Regions from separate parts of the Homo sapiens genome. Here all the other regions are linked to region 3. The links are contacts of gene promoters, found by promoter capture Hi-C in human tissues and cell types (Jung and others, 2019). All regions are on one chromosome and are shown on one strand. Each heading gives the region's core, a stretch centred on a gene start or on the middle of the fragment in contact. The rest is flanking DNA. Distances are from core to core; before and after follow the strand shown. Region 1 overlaps DUS2 (dihydrouridine synthase 2). Region 2 has its middle 6.0 kb from the start of DPEP2. Region 3 holds the start of GFOD2 (Gfo/Idh/MocA-like oxidoreductase domain containing 2). Region 4 overlaps NFATC3 (nuclear factor of activated T cells 3). Region 5 overlaps ATP6V0D1 (ATPase H+ transporting V0 subunit d1).

What was found. The method cuts DNA at HindIII sites, captures the fragments that hold promoters and counts their contacts. A contact is called where the count stands out against the background at its distance.
Region 1: a fragment that was not itself captured here is called in contact with the fragment with the promoter of GFOD2 in region 3 in 2 of the 25 tissues and cell types used here (hippocampus and lymphoblastoid cells).
Region 2: a contact is called between a fragment that was not itself captured here and the fragment with the promoter of GFOD2 in region 3, in 2 of the 25 tissues and cell types used here (bladder and hippocampus).
Region 4: a contact is called between a fragment that was not itself captured here and the fragment with the promoter of GFOD2 in region 3, in 1 of the 25 tissues and cell types used here (mesenchymal stem cells).
Region 5: a fragment that was not itself captured here is called in contact with the fragment with the promoter of GFOD2 in region 3 in 1 of the 25 tissues and cell types used here (mesenchymal stem cells).

Annotation. Positions count from the first base shown.
Region 1 is chr16:68,071,598-68,076,439 of GRCh38, reverse strand. It overlaps DUS2 (dihydrouridine synthase 2), which reads right to left. Exons shown (of 17, transcript NM_017803.5): 13 at 2,285-2,406; 14 at 936-1,085. Among named protein-coding and RNA genes, the nearest start is that of NFATC3, 11 kb to the left of the region's middle. RefSeq lists an enhancer at 1,009-1,118. The HindIII fragment of the contact is 3,051 bases long and covers 1,118-4,168 here.
Region 2 is chr16:68,003,195-68,007,727 of GRCh38, reverse strand. It overlaps the pseudogene KARS1P3. Among named protein-coding and RNA genes, the nearest start is that of DPEP2, 6.0 kb to the right of the region's middle. RefSeq lists an enhancer at 369-1,142. The HindIII fragment of the contact is 4,078 bases long and covers 118-4,195 here.
Region 3 is chr16:67,716,062-67,720,670 of GRCh38, reverse strand. It overlaps GFOD2 (Gfo/Idh/MocA-like oxidoreductase domain containing 2), which reads left to right and starts at 1,355. Exons shown (of 3, transcript NM_030819.4): 1 at 1,355-1,508. RefSeq lists silencers at 1,438-1,487, 1,548-1,597 and an enhancer at 1,958-2,037. The HindIII fragment of the contact is 6,116 bases long and covers 1-2,888 here.
Region 4 is chr16:68,206,660-68,211,467 of GRCh38, reverse strand. The region is part of intron 9 of NFATC3 (nuclear factor of activated T cells 3); the gene reads right to left. It also overlaps the pseudogene RPS12P27. Among named protein-coding and RNA genes, the nearest start is that of MIR6773, 24 kb to the left of the region's middle. RefSeq lists an enhancer at 255-324. The HindIII fragment of the contact is 3,682 bases long and covers 811-4,492 here.
Region 5 is chr16:67,440,514-67,444,896 of GRCh38, reverse strand. It overlaps ATP6V0D1 (ATPase H+ transporting V0 subunit d1), which reads left to right. Exons shown (of 8, transcript NM_004691.5): 3 at 191-369; 4 at 1,719-1,798. Among named protein-coding and RNA genes, the nearest start is that of HSD11B2, 12 kb to the right of the region's middle. RefSeq lists enhancers at 1-139, 764-1,387. The HindIII fragment of the contact is 3,547 bases long and covers 1-3,286 here.

The DNA of each region.
Region 1 (4,842 bases), core at 1,394-3,893, 350 kb before region 3:
TCCCTAAAGGGAAGATGAATTTTGGCATGCTCAAGAAATTGTAAGGGAAGGGGGAATGAACTCCCAGTACTCTGAGGTCCAGACTGGAAAAACAATGTTCAACATCCAAGAAGGAAGCTTGCCACTCAAGACAAGATTAGTAGGGAGTGGGTGGAGGTGGGCAATGGAGGTAGCCAGACAATGGTCTCGGGGATCTAGCTCAGCGCCCATCCTGATTCCGCCTGCCAAGTGTCATGATCATCTGCTGCAGCCATGGACACTTGGAATCTGGTTTCAGAGTCAGCCTGTGACAGGGTGACACAGTGACAGGGTGGGAGGGGTCATATTCCAACTTCCCAACTGGAACTCTCCCTGGCATCTGACTGCCCAACAGCTATTCCCCACCACCCTGCTCCCCCTCTCCACACCTCTGCCAGACAAGACTGGCTCCTGTCTGGTCCTGGGGACTGGAGAAAGGCTCAGATCCCAGAGGAGGGCACCATTCAAAGCTGAGTCACAATCTGAGGCGTAAGCAGCTTGAGAGAGCACCACAGAGCTGGTGAGGGGCACTGGGTGTGGGTAGGGGCTGCAGAGCCAAATGAGGGCTAGGGTCCTGCTGTTGTTTGAGGAGCTTCATGCCAGGAGCCAGTTCCTCAGGGCCTTGGAAAAGCACAGACTTTCAGGAACAGGAGACAAGTCCCCCCTGCCCTGAGTTGTGGGAGGCGGTAAATCAGGGAAAAAGTAGAGTTCAGTTATCCTTGGGACAGCCTTTCAGGGACTATCTCCCCTGAAAGCACCTTCTATGGGATGCTGAAAATTTAGAACGAGTTTCCAAACCAACAAGACCTGTGGTCCCTACGTTTGACATTAAGCACATACAGCAGCCAGTGTGCTGGCCCAGTGGGACCCCAAGGGTGCTGGCCCTAGCCCAAGCTGAGGCCAAGCTGGAGACCTACCGGTCAAACTTGACAGCCATCTTAATGACACCAGAGGTATCTTCAGCTGGCTCCCCTGTCTGCTCTGAAGTCTTGGCTGAGAGCCTGGCCTGCTGGGCATCCAGCTCCTGTGTGGTCTCCTCATAGAAGGCACCAAGGCCAAAGGCCTCACTAGGGAGGAAGAAGCAGATCAGAGCAAACACTTTAGCGGAGCCAGCATCCAGGGTACTGCAGGACCCCAGGGCCCCACCACTGAGAAACTCCTCTACCACATACACCAAAACACCACCGGGGCCTGGCCATCAGAATGTGCCCCCTGCCCAGCCCTGGGATTACTGTGGACTGGAAGATGGAAAGTGAATGTGAACCCAAGCGTGGACACTGGAGGGAGGCTGGGCTGGGTGGCAAAGGTTGTAAAGGTCACCCCCACCACCTGCAGCCTCTCTCCTGAGGGGAAGCACACAGATGGTATCCCCAGCCAGCCGTGACTGAGTTAACCAATGCTGATCAAGCACATGGGCCCATGGGAGGAAGAGACAGAGGCCTGACCACTAAGTGGTTCCCCACTTCCCGCCCAGCCACAGGCAGTTATACATGGGTCTCAGCTGACACTGAGGCACCACCCAGAGCTACAGAGTTATGTGGGGTAGGGACTGAACCAATGCCATAAGCCAAGGGTGGGAAGAGGGCTCTGGCAAAGGTTTTTCCCTTCTAGGAAACATCTTGAAGGCTGGAAGACTCAAACGAAGATAGATCCCCAATGGCAAAAGTGGTTCAGAAAGGCATCTATGTAAGAGGGAGGCTACAGATAGCTCACGTGAGAGGGAGAGAGCCTTCCAGGCAGACGACCCATTACAAGCACAGGTGTGGAGTTCTGGAAGCAGACAGGTAGACAGGGAGCTGTGGGGGCAGTGGCTAGGCCAGCTTGTGAAGGGCCTCAACTGTCAACCATCTGAGCTAGAGCTGCACCTGATCTAGAGAATCAACAGGTGGTCTCTCAAACTGCAGGGTGATGGATGTGAGTGCAGGCTCAAGGTAGAGGCTCCATGCTACAGCCCAATTCTCCTGACCACTGGTTCCTGGGGGCCTGGCCTGTGACTATCCCATTTATGGAAAATCCCCTTCCTTTGCATTCCTCTATCCTTCTAGTACCCTAGTTCCCAGAGCTCTGCTGATCCGTCCAGGGATGGGACGTTTCAAAGCTTTCAAAGAATCCCCTCCTGGGAGGCAAAGCTGTACCATCACTCCACTCCTCTACATCTACATCCAGAAGCTGTGTCCCTGGTCCCCTGGTGGAGTCAGCTTAGGGCTCAAAGTCAAACTTGGGCAATGCGTACAAGGACAGATGGACATCTTATTGTGCCTCTTACCAAATTTCCCGGGAAGACTGGGCAGCATGGAGCAACCTTCCCTGGGGCGACTCCAGCTGTTCTCGTAGCATCTGGCACAAGCAGTACTTGGTGTTGGTGTAGTGGTTGTCATACTGCACCGCCTGAGAAAAGAAATGACTTGCCTGATGCCCAGGCAGGCTCTAAGGCCTGGGCTATGCTCTGATGGCAGGGAAAGGAGCTCCAAGAAGGCACCAGAGATGTATGTGTAGCCAAGGCAATGTGACCCCCATAAGAAGAACCACCACTGGCCAGGAGCAGTGGCTCACATCTGTAATCCCAGCACTCTGAGAGGCCAATGCAGGAGGACTGCTTGAGGCTAGGAGTTCAAGAGCAGCCTGGGCAACGTAAGACTCAACTCTACAAAAATTAAAAAAAAGAAAATTATCGGCTGGGCACGGTGGCTCACGCCTGTAATCACAGCACCTTGGGAGGCCAAGGCGGGCGGATCACCTGAGGTCAGGAGTTCAAGACCAGCCTGACCAACATGGTGAAGCCCCGTCTCTACTAAAAATACAAAATTAGCTGGGCGTGGTGGCGGGTGCCTGTAATCCCAGCTACTCGGGAGGCTGAGGCAAGAGAATCGCTTGAACCCTGGAGGCGAAGGTTGCGGTGAGCCAAGATCGTGCCACTGCACTCCAGCCTGGGCGACAACAGCAAAACTCTGTCTCAAAAAAAAAAAAAAAAAGAAAAAGAAAATTAGCCAGGCATGTTGGCACACACCTGTAGCCATAGCTACTAGGGAGGCTAAGGCAAGAGGATTGCTTGCACCCAGGAGTTGTGGCTGTAGTGAGCTATGATCATGCCACTGCACTCCAGCCTGGGCAACAGACTGAGACCCTATCTAAAATTAAAAATAAAAATAAAAATAAATTAAAAAGCCACTTCGACCTTGGTCATCTACTCTTCCAGCTAGTGGTACAAAGCTTGAGGGTCACAGCCAAGGACCACGGTCAGAAACACATTCTCCTGGACAGCCTGACTGAGGTCTCGAAGTGCGGGAGCCCCTTCCTGCTTCAGCCACCACAGAGGACCTACTGCCAAGTATCTTCCAGGGAAGGGAGGGGAAACACACCAAATTCTGGCATGGCAGGTCCAGTGCCAGGAAAGGGGTGAGATTCTTCTATTCCTTCTAACCAGAATGGGCACCTTCCCTTCCCACATCTTGAATAGCCTCTAACTTCCCCCTACGTGGGTAAAACACAGCATCATTTAGTTCACATGGGTTACTCATGACTACATTTATCTATACAAGTGTGAGGTGCAACTGTCACCATCACTCCACAGACCGTGAAATGAAGGCTCAGGGAGGCAAGATGACTGACTGCCTGGGACACCCAGTGGAAGTCGGCTGGCTAGAGGTAGGGCAGGAGAGCAGTATTGGGTGAAGGTGGCCTTCCCCAGCCCTCCAGGACACCCTCCCATCCCCCACCCCCTATGCTGCTCTAGTAACTCCACGTGGGCCTATGACTTCAGTGGCTGGGAAAGTGCCACGGCACGCTCAGGACAAAGTGGGAAGTAAGTCGGGGCGCCCCGGCTGGTGGCAAGTCCTTGACTCAGCTTGTCTGGGAAGAAGGCACCTGGCTGGACCAGAAGCAGCCCTGCCTATGCTTGAAAGCCGCTCCCTTTCTCTGTGATAGCACACCCTCTTGAGGAGCTGCCAAGAGATGGCTCAGCAGGAATGATAATATCACCTTTCACCCAGTGAGCAAGCTCAGCACTGTTCAGCACGTCTTCTTGGCCAGACTTGCCAGCTGGCCAAAAAGCTGGATAGCTGACCTGGGCTGGGGCAAGCCCTCCCTTGCCATGGAGCTATCCCAGACCATTGGAGAGCTGGTGGTCACCAACTTGCCCAGCAGGACACCAGAACCAGGGAGTGAGGGCTGCAGCATTGAACAGGAAATAGGACAAAGGCTGCCCAGCTCTGGACGCAGACCTCAGGGCATCTTACCATCCTAGCTTGCACAGCCATGGAAACACTCACATACCATGGCAGCCACAGGCACTCCTAGGCAGGTATGAACCCTAGGACTGAAGAGGAGGGTGGAACTCTGCTCTGGGCAAAGACTGCACCCTCTGTTCAGACCCAATTCACTGAAGAATTTGAGGACCACTCACTGTCTCTCCCTGCAGACATGTGCAGCTGATCAGAGTCCCACAGAGTTCCAGGGTTGTGCCAAAGAGATAAGGCAAGTGAACTCTTCATTTTCTTTTATAGGGATATGCCCTTGGCACTACCATCAACCTCTCAATGAGAAGAAACTGGTTTAGAAAAGGCCATTCCCAGCCTGGGCAACATAGGGAGACCTCATCTCTATTAAAAAAATAAAAAATTAGCTGAGTGTTGTGGCACATGCCTGTAGTCCCAACTACTTGGGAGGCTGAAGCAGGAGGATCACTTGAGCCCAGGAGGTCAAGACTGCAGTGAGTCATGATTATGCCACTATGCTCACACCTGGGCAACAGAGCAAGACCCCATCTCAAAAAAAAAAAAAAAAAGCTATTCCCTAAGTAGAGGGTTATGCTTAAAGCATTCTGGA
Region 2 (4,533 bases), core at 907-3,406, 290 kb before region 3:
ATGGCATAAACCCGAGAGGCGGAGCTTGCAGTGAGCCGAGATGGCGCCACTGCACTCCAACCTGGGCGACAGAGCGAGACTCCATCTCAAAAAAAAAAAAAAAAGTGGCTGGGTGTGGTGGCTCATGCCTGTAATCACAGCACTTTGGGAGGCCAAAGAGGGAGGACTGCTTGAGCCCAGGAGTTCGTCACCAGCCTGGGGAATAAAACAGGACCCTGTCTCGGCCAGGCGCGGTGGCTCATGCCTGTAATCCCAGCACTTTGGGAGGCCGAGGCGGGTGGATCACGAGGTTAGGAGATCGAGACCATCCTGGCTAACATGGTGAAACCCCGTCTCTACTGAAAATACAAAAAAATTAGCTGGGCATGGTGGCGGGTGCCTGTAGTCCCAGCTACTCGGAAGGCGAGGCAGGAGAATGGCGTGAACGCAGGAGGCGGAGTTTGCAGTGAGCCGACATCACCCCACTGCGCTCCAGCCTGGGCAACAGAGGGAGACTCTGTCTCAAAAAAAAAAGACCCTGTCTCTACAAATTTTAAAAGAAAAGTACTGTTAACTTTTATAAGGGTCATAATGGTATGGTAATTGCCATTTATTTATATATTTATTTATTTTATTTTATTTTTCAGAAACAGGGTTTTAGTATGCTGCCCAGGCTGGCCTCAAACTCCTGGGCTCAAGCAATCCTCCTGTTTCAGCCTCCCAAATAGCTAGTAGGACTACAGGAATGGCCCAGTGCACCTGGCTTATAGTTGTCTTTTAAAAACAGCCATTACCATTTATTTATTTATTTATTTAGAGACTGAGTCTTTCTCTGCTGCCCAGGCTGGAGTACAGTGGCATGATCTCAGCTCACTGCAATCTCTGCCTCCTGGGTTCAAGCAGTTCTCCTGTCTCAGACTCCTGAGTAGCTGGGATTATAGGTGTCCTCCACGACAACCAGCTAATTTTTGTATTTTTAGCAGAGATGGGGTTCGCTATGTTAGCCAGGCTGGTCTCCAACTCCTGACCTCAGGTGATCCACCCACCTCAAGCTTCCAAAGTGCTGTGATTTCAGGCAAGAGCCACGTGCCCAGCCTAAAAAGAGCCCTTACCTTTTAGAGAGGCATACTTAAAAATGGATGAAATAGATGTCTATGATTTGCTTTAAAATAATCTGTAGAAAGAGGTGAGTGAGAGCATAAATGAAATAAGATGAGCCATCAGTTGGTAATCTTTGAAACTGGGTGATGGCTACATGGGAGTTAATACACTTTTCTCTCTCCTTTCTCATGTATTTGCAATTTTTCCTATAAAAAGTTTTTTGGTCTGGGCACAGTGGCTCATGCCTGTAATCCCAACACTGTGGGAGGCTAAGGTGGGAGGATCACTTGAGACCAGGGGTTTGAGACCAGCCTGGCAACATGGTGAAATCCCATCTCTACCAAAAAAAAAAAAAAAATTAGCTGGGTGTGGTGGCACCACCCTGTAGTCCCTGCTACTCGGGAAGCTGAGGTGAGAGGATCACCTGAGCCCCGAATTTGAGGCTACAGTGAGCCATGACGGCACCACTGCACTCCAGCCTAGGCCACAGAGGGAGATACAGTTTCAAAAAAAAAGTTTTGTGTTGTTGTTTTTAACTAAGCTTCTCAGATTCACCCAGATGCGGAGTCAGTGAGATCTCACATGGTCAGCTTCACAGGAGGGCAGGCTTTCTGCATAAAAACAGGAAGCTTAGAGAGCTCCGGGGCAGGGTGTGCTGTGACTTCACTGTGTTTTTGCAGAAACAGGTCTGATAGCCCTCGGAGATCAGCAGACAAGGTTAAGCAAGAGACAGCAAGTCTGAATTTGAGGTTAAATGTGAAATCACACATGTTGTCTAGATGTTTGGTCAGCACTGGCTCCTGGATCTTGGGGGCCTCTACAGAGCCCACCCTCCACCCCCATGTGCTTATGCCAGCACATGTGATAGCTGGAGACTTATCCAGCCACCTCACTGCACACCCCAGCAAATGGCCAGCACCAGTGGGTGATCAGGAAATGATGCCCGGACAAACTGATAGATGTAAGGAATTTGAGGCTGGGCACAGTGGCTCACGCCTGTAATCCTAGCACTCTGGGAGACTGAGGTGGGCAGATCCCTTGAGGTCATGAGTTTGAGACCAGCCTGGCCAACATGGAGAAACCCCTGTCTCTACTAAAAATAAAAAAATTAGCCAGGCATGGTGGCGTGCGCCTGTAATCCCAGGAAGCTGAGGTAAGGAATTTGAGGCCTTTCCTAGAGGCAGCAGCTGGAAGTGGAGGGATTGAAGGAACCCCTCATCTGACCAGCTGCTCAATTTTCTTACCCACACGATAAGGCTGGTTCCTTAACTACACGGCCACGTGAAAAAAACAAAAAACAGGGCCAGGCACAGCGGCTCATGCCTATATTCCAGTACTTTGGGAGGCTGATGTGGGAGGATCACTTGAGGCCCGGAGTTCGAGACCAGCCTGGACAACATGACAAAACCCCATCGCTACTAAAAATGTGAATATTTAGCTGGGAGTGGTGGTGGGTGCCTGTATTCCTGGTTACTCTGGAGGATGAGGTATGAGAATCCCTTGAACCCTGGAGGCAGAAGTTGCAGCGAGCCGAGATTGCGCCACTGCACTCCAGCCTGAGCAACAGAGCAAGACTTCATCTCAAAAAAAAAAGAAAAAGAAAAAAAACACAATTTTGGGTCCAGGCCCTCTGGGAAGATGACTGCAGTACAAGGGGCCAAGGTTAAAGTGGATGGTGGTGAGTCAAAACTGAGCAAGAACAAGCCGAAGAGATACCTGAAAGCCGAGAAGAAAGTGGCAGAGAAGGCAGCCAAGCAGTAAGAGCTCAGTGAGAAACAGCTAAGCCCAGGTCACTGCTGCTGCCACCAACCATACCACTGACAATGGTGTGGGTCCTGAGGAGGAGAGCCTGGACCCAAATCAGTACTACAAGATCCACAGCCAAGGCCAGGCCCGGTGGTTCACTCCTGTAATCCTAGCACTTTGGGAGGCTGAGGCAGGCAGATCACTTGAAGTCAGGGGTTCGAGGCCAGCCTGGCCAACATGATGAAACCCCATCTCTACTAAAAATACAAAAATTAGCTGGGCATGGTGGCACATGCCTGTAATTCCAGCTACTTGGGAGGCTGAGGTAGGAGAATCGCTTGAATCTGGGAGGTGGAGGTTGCAGTGAGCTGAGATTGAGCCACTGCACTCCAGCCTGGGCAACAGAGCGAGACTCTGTCTCAAAAAAAAAAAAAAAAAAAAAGATTTGCAGTCAGGTAGGTCAATGGGAAAGACCCATACCCCAACGAGATCCATGTAGACATCTCCCTCACTGACTTCATCCCAGAATATTGTCACCTGCAAACTGGGGATCTCCTGACTGATATCACCTTAAACGTGACAGATAGGATCCATGCCAAAAAAGCTTTTGGAGGAAAGCTGAACTTCTATGATCTTTTTTTTTTTTTTTTTGAGATGGAATTTCACTATTGTTGCCCAGGCTGGAATGCAATGGCACAATCTCAGCTCACTGCAACCTCCTCCTCCCTAGGTTTAAGCAATTCTCCTGCCTCAGCCTCCCTAGTAGCTGGGATTACAGGCGTGCGCCACCACGCCCGGCTAATTTTGTATTTTTAGTAGAGGTGAGGTTTCTCCATGTTGGTCAGGCTGATCTCGAACTCCCAACCTCAGGTGATCTGCCTGCCTGCCTTGGCCTCCCAAAGTGCTGGGATTATAGGCGTGAGACACAGTGCCCAGCCATGAACTTCTATGATCTTTGAGCAGAGGGGGTCAAGTTGCAAGTCATGGCCAATTTCAGGAATTATAATTTCAGGAAGAATAATTTATTCATATTAATAACAAACTGCGTTGGGGAAACATAATTGGAATTCAGAGGAATCCTGGGAAAAACCAAGAAGGATGAGCTGAGCTTCATTCCCTATGAGATCACACTGCTGTGGCCTTGCTTGTATATGTTACCTCATCTTCACTTTGGCCTCAAAGACAAGGAAATAAGGTATGGTCAGAGATACTTGGACTTGATCCTGAATGAATGAGGCAGAAATTTATCATCTGCTGTAAGATCATCACATGTATAATAAGTTTCTTAGGCCAGGTGCAGTGGCTCACGCCTGTAATCCCAGCACTTTGGGAGGCCAAGGCAGGCAGATTGCCTGAGGTCAGGAGTTCGAGACCAGTCTGGACGACATGGTAAAACCCCACCTCTACTAAAAATACAAAAATTAGATGGGCGTGGTGGCAGGTGCCTATAATCCTAGCTACTCAGGAGGCTGAAGCAGAATTACTTGAACCCAGGAGGTGGAGGTTGCAGTAAGCCAAGATTGCACCACTATACTCCAGCCTGAGCAACAAGAAAACTCCATCTCAAAAAAAAAAAAAAAGTTTCTTGGATGAGCTGGGATTCCTAGAGCTTGAAACTCCCATGAATGAACGTCATCCCAGGGGAGCTATGACCAAGCCTTTCATCACTTATCACAACAAGCTGCACATGAACTACTCTAGAACTCT
Region 3 (4,609 bases), core at 106-2,605:
GAATCTTACAGGACTATTACTCTATAGAATGCTCTTAGGGAAGAGGTAGCATAAAGGGGAAAATATGGGTTTTAGATTAAGCATAAAGTCCTGGTTCTATATAAGTAAAGCCAGAGTAGGCTCATTTCCCCCTAGACTAGTGGTTCTCAACTGGGAATGATTTTGCTCCCAGGGAGACACTTGGCAATGTCTGGAGATATTTTTGGTAGTCACAACTGGGCTTGGGGTGCTACTGGCATCTACTGGGTAGAGCCAGGGATGCTGCCAAACATCCTACAATGCAGACAGCTCCCCCCACCCCTGCCCAACAAAGAATTATCAGGTCCAAAATGTCAATAGTGCCACTGTTGAGAAATCCTACTCAAGAAGAGTGGAACTCCGAACAATGACTAAGAAACAGATCAAACAGGCACATTTTGACTCTGCCTTCCTTCTGCCTGGCTCTAGAGGATCCAGGAGAGAAAGGATAAAATCCCATCAGAAGAGGGGGGGTTTAGGGGTTACAACTTCTCATCACTTTGGAAGCCTTCCATGCTCCTCACAGAGGTGGTAGGAGTCCTGTCTCCGCTCAAAGCAGGGATAGCTCTGCTGCTAGTTAGCATATCTCAGTAGGAACTGCCTCACGCTTAGGTCAGCTGACATATTCTGTCACCACAGGCTGCTCTGGAATGATGGCTGGGAGATCATCCTAATGCCAGCTGAGTGGGGATCTTGATACTCAGCAGGAGGGTCAGACAAGCAGGGACGGGGGCTCCCCATGCAGATACAAACCCCAATCACATTTCCTACACAGGCAGTTTTATTCTAAGGTCTAACGGCTTCCTTACTCTAGCGGATAGTTTGCTATTTGGTGGGGCATAGGCTTCAGTAAAGAGGCCAAGGGGACTGAGGTTACAGTCTTGAAGAGCACTGATATTTAAGGAACAATCAAAAAACATCCAGAGGAAGAGGAGCCCAGACAGGCACCTGAGAAAACGGAAAAACGAGTCACTGGGGGTCAGGGAGCCAGGAAGTCCGACGAGTTCGAGAGAACTGGCCTTCTGCAGATATGTCCTTGTCCAACACGAAACCGTCTTTCATTCCAGGACAACTGAGGCTACCCACAGCTACCAAAACCTGGTCCCTGACGCCGGTCAGCGGACCGGAGAGAAGCCAAGCTTAGGAAACTGCCGCCTCCGCCGCCGGAAATGAATAACCTGAGCCTCCTAGCCAGGCTGCTTAAGCTCCGCCCCCAAAAAGCGAGCATGCGCAGCTCCCGGCTACGGCCCCTCCCAGCGCAGGCCCATCCCCGTTATGGAGCATGCGCAGTCCTCCTGCCGTCCCGCCCCTCCCTTTCCAGAGCCCCCAGTTCCTTAGAAACCAGGCGGCGCGTTCCCGGTGGCGGCGCCCTGGACTCCCGGGCCCGCGCATCCCCGCCAGCCTTCCTTAAGGCGGATGGGTGGCCCCCGAGACCCCGTCGGACCCATGGTTTCCAGTGCAGCGCGGAGTGGGCGATGCCAGCGTGCCAGGTGAGAGGCGGCCACCGGTGGCGGGTGAGGGCGAAAGAGGGCATGGCGCGGCCGGGAGCGGGCGCCGACAGGGCCTTCTCCGCGGCCCGGCGCCGGAGGTTGGAGGCGTGGACCCGCAGAGCCGGGGTTGGAGGGGGCTTGTTCCAACTGCCTGCAGGCGCGTGGAGTGGAGGGTCGCCTTGGGATTCGCCCTTTCCACCGCAGAAATAGGACCCGCAGGCTTGGTGGTAGAATTATAGGATTTGGGATCCTGGAAGAACCTGAGACATAACCCATCCTTTTACCAGATGCAAAAACCTAGTCTCCCCCGCCCTGTGCCGAGCGGACCACCTGACTGTGTGAGGATGGACGCTTTGTGGATGAGGATGTGTGAGGTGTAGAAGCTCAGACAAAGGGCTCGTGGGGTAGCTGGTTCGTCCCCTTTCAGAATGAGATGGGACTTTTGGGGATAAATCTTTAAGAAACGGGTGTTCAGTTGACAGGTGGAAGAAGGGACACCCCAGAAGGTGCGAGTGGCTCTGCCAGCTCCCATGTGCCCTATGGCCACGTCTCAATGGCCCTGGCCTACCTTTGTATTTGTAGCTCTGGAAGGAAGCAGATGGACTTGAGACAAAAGGTGAAGTGAGGTCTTCCCATCAAGGCCCTATCACACTTAAAAGGTGAGGGAGGAAGAGTGGACAGGGACATGAGGGCTTGGGAATGGTTGTGTGAAGAGTTTACCCTCCAGACTACAGCACGATCTAAAGAACAAGGCAGGATAGAAGAGTTGAAAGCTGTATTGGATAGGCATCAGGGAAGCTTATTTAACTGTCTTATTTATGTTCATTGTTCCCATAATGTTATCCTGAGGGCAAGAAAGTGGATGTCCTTTTAAATGTCCAGAAAGAACTAGGGCAGGGCACCACCTTTGTGATCTGTGGGGCCCAAAAGCCTCTAAAGGAATAGCCCTTAGTGTGTGGCCCTTAAGTTGAAGGGAACAGCATTTAATTTAGAAAAGGAAGGCACTTAAATTTATTGTGATATGGAGCAATATAGAGAAGATGGTTGTTTTTGAGTCGGGGAAGCTAGATTCATTCTTGATAAGGAAACTTATTTCCTTCTGGAAAGCTACACTAGAGAACAAAAGAGTTTTAAGGCCATCCATTTTACAGGAAACGTGAAAAAATTAACTGCTTTGGGATTGGGAGTTTAGAGAACCTGCCTGGACCAAGAGAGGAAATTTTCAACAGACGGTTCTGTTGGTCGAATCCTTATTTCACAGATAAAGATTCTGTTGTGAGAGGTTATCTCTTACCACCTGGTTTTCCCACTTTGCCATGGAATAATCATTGGTCTGGGTCTAATTCTCTATCTATCTATCTATCTATCTATCGAGACGGAGTCTCACTCTGTCACCCAGACTGGAGTGCAGTGGTGCGATCTCGGCTCACTGCAATCTCCGCCTCCCAGGTTCAAGCGATTCTCTGGCCTCAACCTCCTGAGTAGCTGGGACTACAGGCATGTACCACCACGCCCAGCTAATTTTTGTATGTTTAGTAGAGAAGGGGTTTCACCATGTTGGCCAGGCTGGTCTTGAACTCCTGACCTCAGATGATCTGCCTGCCTTGGCCTCCCAAAGTGCTGGGATAACAGGTGTGAGCCACCACACCCAGCCCTCATTATTATTTTTATTTGCTAGGGCAATTGCTATCTGATTTCTATAGTAATACTAGAACACATTGGTAGTAGAACTAGCAATTTTTTAGAAAGCCTCCTCTGACCCAAAACTTAAAAATTAGAACTATGTGATTTTTAAAAGATGGTCCCTGATTCTAATCATCAAAGTCAGTTTGTCCCTAGCTTGATAAAAACTAATTTTCTATTTACATTTGACTTTGCAGCAGGTTTTTCCCCTTGCCCTTATAAGAAGATACATTGGAAGTATAATAATGTTAACAGGTGAAATCAGTTTAAAGAAGAAAGCTTTGGGCCGGGCGCAGTAGCTCATGCCTGTAATCCTAGCACTTTGAGAGACCAAGGTGGGTGGATCACCTGAGGTCAGGAGTTTGAGACCAGCCTCACCAACATAATGAAACCCCGTCTCTACTAAAAATACAAAATTATCGGGGCATGGTGGTGCACGCCTGTAATCCCAGCTACTTGGGAGGCTGAGGCAGGAGAATCGCTTGAACCTGGGAGGCAAAATTTGCAGTGAGTCGAGATCGCGCCATTGCACTCCAGCCTGGACAAGAGCTAAACTCTGTTTCAAAAAACAAAAAAAGAAGAAGAAAACTTTGTCTTGGCTTCATAATTCAGCATCATACCATAACTATGGGTATTGTGACTGTGCTTTTTACCAACTTTTCTTGCACCTGTGGGGTTATTTTGTATAAATACCTCAGGAGTTATAATGGGGCATTATCAAAAGCAAATGTAACCTCTGGGGAAAATCAGTACTGTTAACCAAATTCTGTCAGAAAGGCTTCATGAAAATCATTGTGTTCTGTGCAGAAACCTTCATTACTTTCACGTTGACCCAGAGGAAGGTAAGACAAGTAGGCCAAAATCAAGTCAAGGTAAAATGGAAGGGAGCAGTTGCCACCTGTGGAACTGGATGGACTGTGGGAGGGTGTTTTGAACGTGGGCACAAATACTTTGAATGAGCTTTTGGAGAGGGTACTGCTTAAATACGGCTGTGGTGTGACCTGTGGATTTGTGTGAGTTTTCTGAACTCCAATCAGAAAAACACTTGTTTTCAGAGAAAGGTAGACTTACAGAGGACTCTCAAAAGTCCTGGTTGCTATGACAGTGAAACCTTTGACAAATAATTACTTAACTTCTATGCCATTTTCTGGAGCAGCTGAGGGCAGTTATCATATCTGGCCTGTAATAAAGTAATCAACAGTGTTTGACAGGCCAACCATGAGGAAACCCTACCAGATAAACCAGCAATGCTAATAGAAGCTACTTTCACTGAACTGATTTTCTAGTTTTCCCATAAGAGGAGAAATGGAATGGGGATGCAATGTCATCTGATGTTAGAAGTTGAAATGCAGAGGTCGGTGTTCAGAAAACACAGGATCAGAGAGACCACTAACTTAGAAATAGGAAAAGTGCCTTTC
Region 4 (4,808 bases), core at 1,402-3,901, 490 kb before region 3:
ACGCCTGTAATCCCAGCACTTTGGGAGGCCGAGGCGGGAGGATCACAAGGTCAGGAGATAGAAACCATCCTGGCCAACATGGTGAAACCCCGTCTCTACTAAAAATACAAAAATTAGCTGGGCATAGTGGTGAGTGCCTGTAATCCCAGCTACTCGAGAGGCTGAGGCAGGAGAATGGCGTGAACCCGGGAGGTGGAGGTTGCAGTGAGCTGAGATCGCGCCACTGCACTCCAGCCTGGCGACAGAGCGAGACTCCATCTCAAAACAAAACAAAGAAAAAAGAGTTTCGATTCTTTTGAAACTCTTAAAAAGATTAAAGAAAAGGAAACACTTCCTAACTCATTATGAGGCCAGAATTTACTCTGACACAAAGCCAGAAAAAGATACTATAAGAAAAGAAAAGGCTAGGCACAGTGGCTTACACCTGGGAGGCTAAGGTGGGTGGATCACGAGGTCAGGAGTTCGAGACCAGCCTGGCCAATATGGTGAAACCCCATCTCTACTAAAAATACAAAAAAATTAGCCGGGCATGGTGGTGCGCACTTGTAGTCCCAGCTACTCGGGAGGCTGAAGCAGAAGAATCGCTTGAACTGGGGAGGCAGAGGTTGCAGTGAGCCGAGGTCACACCACTGCATTCCTGCCTGAGCGACAGAGCAAGACTCCATCTCAAACAAACAAAAAAACAAAAAAACTACAGAATATTCTTTATGAATATAGATGCAAAAATCAACAAAACACTAACACAATTCAGCAGCATATTAAAAGGATGATACATTAAGACCAAGTGAGTTTTATTCCCAGAATGCAAGGATGATTCAACAAATGAAAATCAATTAAAGTAATATGCCAAATTAGTTGAACAAAAGAAAAAAAAACATACTCCTGACTGGCATGGGCAACATGGCAAGACCCTACCTCTACAAAAATTAATTTAAAAACCACATGATCATCTCGATAGATGCAGAAAAGTGTTTGTAAAAATTCTTTTATTTTTTTTGAGACAAGGTGTCACTCTGTCACCAAGGCTGGTGTGCAGTGGCACAATAATGGCTCACTGCAGCCTCTACCTCCCAGGCTCAAGCAATCCTCCCACTTCAGCTTCCCAAGTATTTGGGACCACAGCACCTGGCTAATTTTTTGTATTCTTTTTTTTTTTCTTTTTTTTTTTTTGAGAAGGAATCTCACTCTGTCGCCCAGGCTGGAGCGCAGTGGCATGATCTTGGCTCACTGCAAGCTCCGCCTTCCGGGTTCACGCCATTCTCCTGCCTCAGCCTCCCGAGTAGCTGGGACTACAGGTGCCCGCCACCATGCCCAGCTAATTTTTTTGTATTTTCAGTAGAGATGGAGTTTCACTGTGTTAGCCAGGATGGTCTCAATGTCCCGACCTCGTGATCCGCCCACCTCGGCCTCCCAAAGTGCTGGGATTACAGGCGCGAGCCACTGCACCTGGCCATTTTTTGTATTTTTAGCAGAGATGGGATTTCATGTTGCCCAGGCTGGTCTTGAACTCTTGGGCTCGAGCAATCTGCCCACCTCGGCCTCCCAAAGTGCTAGGACTACAGGATTGAGCCAACATGCCCAGAGTGAGTGTGACTGTGAGTGTGTGTGTGTGTGTGTCTGTGTGTGTGTTGGGGGGCAGGGGGGTTAGCCAGAGTTTTATTCGTTCATTTCTTGCATTTGAAGTACTTCAACTACTACACAACTGCAACGAACCACTTTACGGGGTTTCCCCTCTCTGTCAATTTTACAGAGACCTAACCATTCCCCCTAGCTTCTTGTCATCAACCTTAAGTAGGTTGATTTGGTGTTCAGCACAAAGAACCTCTATGAACTTGACATAGGCTCATCACAGTTGGATGCAAACACACAAAAGATGGGCCTGACCCTTCAGCAGCTTTGCAAATTCCACGTGCTAGGCCATCATGGGTGAGGACAGTCTTCAACACCTCTTGTAAAGCAGTATTAACAGCCACCACACCTCCAGCAGCAACACCTTCCGTGGCCATGGTGGTGGTCTACGGGTGAAGCTGAATCTTGAATGCACCCAAGCCTCTGCCTCCACTCAACTCAGCAGTGGCAGGGAAAGAACTCTTTTTCTTTGAGACGGTCTCACTCTGTTGCCCAGGCTGGAGTGCAGTAGCATCCCAATCACGGCTCACTGCAGCCTCCACCTCCTGGGTTCTAGCTATCTGCCCGCCTCAGCCTCCCAAAGTGCTGGTATCACAGGCGTGAGCCACCGTGCCCAACTCATTTATCAAAATTCAATGCTCTTTCAAGATGAAAACATTCAATAAACAAAGAATAGAAGGAATTTCCTCAATATGAAAAAGGCCATATATGAAAAACTGTTAGTTCCTATCATTATCAACAAAGAACAAAAGCTTTCCCCCTAAGATCACAAACAAAGCAAAGATGCCCACTCTTTCACCACTTCTACTAGCCTACCACTAGAAGTTCTAGCCAGAGCAATTAGGTTAGAAAAATAAATAAATACATAAAGCCCATCCAAATTAAAAAGGAAGAGAGAAAATTATCTCTATTCACGAATGGCATGATAGTATAAACATAAAACTCTAAAGAATCCACACAGACAAAAAAATGTTAGCACTAACAAATAAAGTCACCAAAGTGGCAGAATATAGAATCAACACACAATATTCAGTTGTACTTCTATATACTTGGAATGAAAGGTCCAAAAAAAATTAAGAAAACAATTCTTGTTTTGGGGTTTTTTTTTTTGGTTTGTTTTTGAGACGGAGTCTCAGGCTGGAGTGCAGTGGCATAATCTTGGTTCACTCCAACTTCTGTCTCCCAGGTTCAAGCGATTCTCCTGCCTCAGTCCCACAAATAGCTGGGATTACAGGCATATGCCACCACACCCAGCTAATTTTTGTATTTTTAGTAGAGACAGAGTTTCCCCATGTTGGCCAGGTGGGCCCACGTTAGCCAGGTTGGTCTTGAACTCCTGAACTCAGGTGATCAGCCTGCCTCAGCCTCCCAAAGTGCTGGGATTACAAGTGTGAGCCGCTGTGCCCAATCTTAAGAAAAACAATTCTATTTACAGTGGCATCAAAAAGAATAAAATACTTAGGAATTAACCAAAGAGGCATAAGATTTCTACATTGAAAACTAGACCGGGCATGGTGGCTCATGCCTATAACCCTGCACTTTGGGAGGCTAAGGCGGGTGGCTCACCTGAGGTCAGGAGTTTGAGACCAGCCTGACTAATATGGAGAAACCCCATCTCTAATAAAAATACAAAAAATTAGCCAGGCGTGGTGGTGTGAGCCTGTAAACCCAGCTACTCAGGAGGCTGAGGCAGGAGAATCGCTTGAACTTGGGAGGTGGAGGCTGCAGTGAGCCAAGGTCATGCCACTACACTCCAGCTTGGGTGACACAGCCAGATTCCGTCTCAAAAATAAATAAATAAATAAAATAAAGGATTTGGATAGACAAGAAAATATACAAATGGACAACAGGCACATGAAAAGATGCTCAACACCATTAGTCAATAGGGAAATGCAAATCAAAATTATAATGAATATAACTTAATACCCAGTAGGATGGCTATTATTTTAAAAATGGAAAATAACATGTGTTGGCAAGGGTATAAAGAAACTGAAAGCCTTATACATTGTAAATGTAAAATGGTGTGGCTGCTGTAGGATTAAAAAAAATAGTGGTTCCTCAAAAAGTTGAACATGGAGGCTGGGCTTGGTGGCTCACGCCTGCAATCCCAGCACTTTGGGAGGCTGAGGAGGGTGGGTGACCTGAGGTCAGAAGACAGATCAGTGTGGCCAACATGGTGAAACCCCGTTTTTACTAAAAATACAAAAATTAGCTGGGCGTGATGGCACATGCCTGTAATCCCAGCTACTCAGGAGGCTGAGGCATGAGAATCGCTTCAACCCAGGAGGCAGAGACTTCAGTGAGCCCAGATCGCACCACTGCACTCCAGCCTGGGTGACAGAGTGGGACTCCATCTCAAAAAGAAAGTTGAACACAGAATTACCATAGGACCCAGCAATTCCACTCTTACGTAAACACACAAAAGTACTGAAAAGAGGGACTCAAACAGTATGTATGCCAGTGTTCACAGCAGCATTATTCCCAACAGCCGAGAGGGAAACAATACAAATTATCTTTTTTTTTTTTTTGAGATGGAGTTTTGCTCTTGTTGCCTAGGCTGGAGTGCAATGGCATGGTCTCGGCTCACTGCAACCTTTGCCTCCCAGGCTCAAGCGATTCTCCTGTCTCAGTCTTCCGAGTAGCTGAGATTACAGGCGCCCACCACCATGCCCAACTAATTTTTGTATTTTTAGTAGAGATGGGGTTTCACCGTGTTGGTCAGGCTGGTCTCGAACTCCTGACCTGAGGTGATCCACCTGCCTCAGCCTCCCAGGTGCTGGGATTACAGGCGTGAGCCACCGAGCCCTGTCCATCTTTTTTTTTTTTTTTTTTTAATATGTATGCGTTCATCAACTTTTTTTGAGACAGGGTCTCTGTTGCCCGGGTTGGAGTGCATGGTGCAATCTCAGCTCACTGCAACCTCCATCTCCTAAGCTCAGGTGATCCTCTCATCTCAGCCTCCTGAGTAGCTAGAACTACAGGCGCACACCACCACGCCCAACTAATTTTTAAATTTTTTATAGACATGGGGTCTCGCCATGTTGCCCAGGCTGGTCCTGATCTTCTGGGCTCAGGCAATCCACCCACCTCAGCTTCCCAATGTGCTGGGATTAGAGACGTGAGCTACTGTGCCTAGGCCCAAATTATTTTTCACCAGATGAATGGATAAACAAGATGTG
Region 5 (4,383 bases), core at 264-2,763, 280 kb after region 3:
GGGGGTGGTCAGAAGCTTGAGAGGAACATGGGGAGGGAGAGGAGACACTGGTGCTTATCCGCAGCACCCATGAGTCAGCATACATTGTTAAGGGGTGATGGCCTGTGCAGGCGGGCGAGGGCATGGTGCTATGCCAGGACTTCCCGGCCCCCACCTTGATGGGCTCCTTGCTATTGCCTGCCCCCTGTAGTTACAGTTACATGATCGACAACGTGATCCTGCTCATCACAGGCACGCTGCACCAGCGCTCCATCGCTGAGCTCGTGCCCAAGTGCCACCCACTAGGCAGCTTCGAGCAGATGGAGGCCGTGAACATTGCTCAGACACCTGCTGAGCTCTACAATGCCATTCTGGTGGACACGCCTCTTGGTGAGCCGCTGTGGTGGTCATGGGAGGTGGGCAGTGGTGTCAGCATCAGCGCATCAGGGTGGGGTTTGTGGACCCGCTGGGGGGCGACCCTGAGCCAGAAAGTGAGACCTGCCCACTGCTGCTTACCTTTGTCTCCCTTCAACTTCCTCCTCCGATTCTCTCCTCACTTCACCCCTCTTCTGCTCCTGTCCTGTTGCTTTTGCTGGGCCAGGCAGGCTACCCAGGGCCTGACTGGGACTGTCTCACTTTGTGAAGCAGTCTGATCTCCCAGAGTGCAGAGGAGGGCTGAGCTCATGGAGAAGAGTGAGAGAGGCCCAAGTCCCTTGGAGTCCCGAGAGCTCTGACAGACTGTGGCCCGGAGCTGGAGCCTGAGTAAAGCCAGAGTGGCTGCCTGTGAGGCAAGGAGCGAAGCAAACACTGCCACTTCCCTCCACCGAGCAGGTCCCCTGGGCCAGGTCAGACAGCATCCAGCAGGATGCAAGGTCCGTATCAGAAGCCAGGGAAGGGGAATCAAGAGCTTCCTGCAGAGCCCTGCTTAGGCAGTGCTAGTTCCTGCCTGCTTAGGAGGCCGAGGAGAAGGCATTAAGTGTCCTTGTAGCCAGAGTCCTGGGCCTGGGGTACCACCTCTAAGAAGCCACCAGGGTTGAACTACAGGGCTCTAAGCTGCACTGGGTTCTGAGCTAAGAGGCCTGAGCCCTACCTGCTGACCTTGTCTGCCGTAGGCTCTCCCAGCAACTCTGAGCTGGTTCTGGGCTGTTTGTGGCTTCTTCAGTTTCTCCATCTTTAATGAAGAGATAGACCAGTGAGTCTGCAGGCCCTCTTGGGGGATGGGGGTGCTCTATCCTGCTCTGGCCTCTCTTTCCAACCCCACAGTGGCCCCCTGGGTCGCTGGTCTGTGCCTACCCTGCTGTTGGACTTGTCCTAAGGAGGAGGCTGGTTTTCCAAATGTGGACGCCAGGCCTTCCTGGGAGGTGTAGAGAAGTAGGCGTTAGGCCCCGAATCCACAGCTGCCCCTCCAGAAGGGAGGATGTCATGGCCTCTTATGCAAGCCTGTCTTTGGCATGGTCTGAGCTTGGGTCTGCCCCAGCGGTGATTAGATCATGTTATGGCTAGCTGCCTCCTTTATAAATCAATTTTAGGAGCAAGGAGGCAGGAGAAGCTCAGGTCAGTGTACATGGCCCAGAGCATTGCTTCTGCCACTTCCAAGGCAACAGCCTAGGCTGGGGACCCCTCAATACCCAGCCCTGTGGGCCTTGTGGCACGGGCACTCTGTGCCGTGTAGGGCATTTGAACATCAGGATTCTGGCCTAGGCCACCTGCCCACCCCTCAAACCATGTTTCCTCCCCAGCGGCTTTTTTCCAGGACTGCATTTCAGAGCAGGACCTTGACGAGATGAACATCGAGATCATCCGCAACACCCTCTACAAGGTAATGCCCCACACAAGCCATGGGGGATTGGCCTGTCGGTGGGTGGGGCTGTGGGAAGTGGTAGGGTGGTGATTTATGTGAGGTGCTGGGACAGGATGCAGCTATGTCAGGCTCCTATCCCAGGGACTTACTGCTTATTCTCTGGCTCCCATGCTGGGCACAAGGCTGTGTGGAACAGGTTCTCCATCCCATAGTGCCTGTGACGGGCTCAGATAAAATCAGCAGGAGTGGCTGGTGCTCCACCGCTGGCCTGTTACAGCTGGCTCCTGGACAGCCGCTCCCCCAGCATCCAGGAGGGTCATGGACTACCACCCAGGCCGTGGCCCCTGGAACCGCCCTACCTAAGCTATTGCCAGCAAGGACAGGCACTTGAGCAAAGGCAACAGTGTGCTCACTTATGGTGGGGGGAGGGATCTGGCGAGGCATAGCTAGGTCCTCATGTCCCTCGTAGGTTCCCAAGCTTGGAGTCAGTGCCACTTCCCACTGTCCTCATCCCCTGCCCACCTCTTGCCTCCCACCAGGCTGTAGCATAGACTGGGCAACCCCTGAGGATTTCTGGGTCAGCACTACCCTGGCCCAAAGAGATTAAAGAGCCAGGGGACCGGAGAGGAGAGGAAAGTTTAAAAATTTAAAAAAAAAAAAAAAAAGCCCGAGACCAGTTAGGTTAGGGGTGTCTGGGATAGACTCTGCTCTGGCTGCGGTGAGGCACTGAGCTATAGCGCCAGGACCCCAGATGGGCTGCAGTCAGGAACATGGATCCGCAGTGGGCAGGCCCCAAAGCAGGGCTGAGGATGGCCCTGGCCGAGGGACCTGCTGACCTCACCTGTCTATTGGGTGAGAGTCCTCTCCTGCCCTGGTTGGAGCGAGCTGGCTGACATTTGGCTGCAGCCTGAGCCCAGGCCTGCCAATCTCCCTGCAGGGGCCTGGGCCAGAGCACAGTGAGGGTTGGTGGTAGGGGAAGGGCCTGCCTGGAGGTTGCAGTGGTGTCGGCAAGGGACCAGCACGTGCAGAAGGAAAGCATAGAGCATGGGCCAAGTGGCAGGCAGTTTGCTGTGGAAGGACACATTCCAGATGGACAGGGGAGAAGTCTAGAAGAAAAGGCAGGCATGGGATCAAGTTACCCAGGGCTTTGAATGTAAGGCCAGAAGTTTGAACATAGTCCCGTGGGCAGGGTCAGCCAGTAGAGGTTTCCAACAGAGCAGAGTCTTCTCAGAAAGCCCCTTCTAGCCACAATGTGGAGAGCAGATTAGAGGGCCTGAAACCAGAGGTGGGAAGGTCGTCAGCTTCTTTAATCCTTCAGACTGCGCTAGGAACTAGGAAGGTGTCATTATCCCCATGTGAAAATGGGGAAACCGAAGGCTCAGAGAAGTAGGGTGGGTTGCCTAAAGCCACATAATAAGTCACTGGCAGCGCCAGGGATCACACCTGGCTCAGCTTGTTTGCAAAAGTGAGTGCTCTCACCCACTCCGCTAATAGGGCACAGGCCAGCCAGTTAGCTGAGAGGAGAGAGAGCATACACACGTGTGTGTTTGTGTGTGTGTGTGTACGCACGCGCCTAGCTGGCCTGTTGCCGGGTTGCCTGCCCTGAGACAGGGTGAGGGGTGCGGCTGTCCGCCAGCCTCACCCATGCCCTCACCGGGCCTGACTGGTTCTAGCTGGAGTCGCCGGCGAGGGCTGCCCAGGCACTAGCTCATAAACACAGACCCAATGCTGTGGGCCTTGTGCCAGGACTGCCAGCCTGTCAGGCGATGTCCCAGCCCGGTGACCACAGATGGGAGATTAGGCGGACCCTCAACCACCCAGCAGGTGGGAACAGTAGGCAGCTGGTGCAGCAGCCGTGGATTGGCAGACTCCAGGGGACAGGGCGGGGGTGGGAAGGTGACTTTGGTACCGGGGTTGCTGGGATCTTGCCAGTTTCTTTAGCTGCCCTAGCCTCCAGAGGAGAGTCCCACCAGCCTCCCTGACCCTGGGATCAGCCTCTCCTGGGATTGGTACAGATTGGCTAAGCAATTGGGTGGGTAGCAGGGCATGGAGCCCAATACCTGGTTGGTTGGTTCCCCCACAAATAGGAAGTGCAGGGCCCCACTGGGGCAGGCTGTGGGATTTTTGACATATCCAGCTTGGCTGGCCACAGGGAAGGAGGTGGCTGGGGACAGACCCCTAGAGGGACTGTGAAAGGTACCACCAAGCCATGGGAGGGGTTGGCAGCTGTCTCTGCCACCCAGGCCCTCTCATTCCTGGGATCCTCTGTGCTGGGGTCAACCCTCTTTTCCAGGCTTCTTACTTCCTGACCTGTCCTAGATTTTTGTTTCCCGTGATCCCAGAGGTCACTCTCAGGCCTTCCCCTGAGTTGGGCTTGCCCAGCATTGCTGGCCAGGGCAGGCCTGGGCTCACAGACTCCTGGGTCTCATCTCATCTCTCTTGGAGCACCACCCAGCAGAGCTTGTGAGCCCAAGTTGGCTGATGGTTGGTGGAAAGGTCTCCACACCTTGGAGTTCAGACCTCGGTATGAAAAGCTTTCCATGCCATCCAACCCTTGCCTACAATCTAGAAGAATAGTCTCTAGCCTGTGGAGCCAGGGTCTC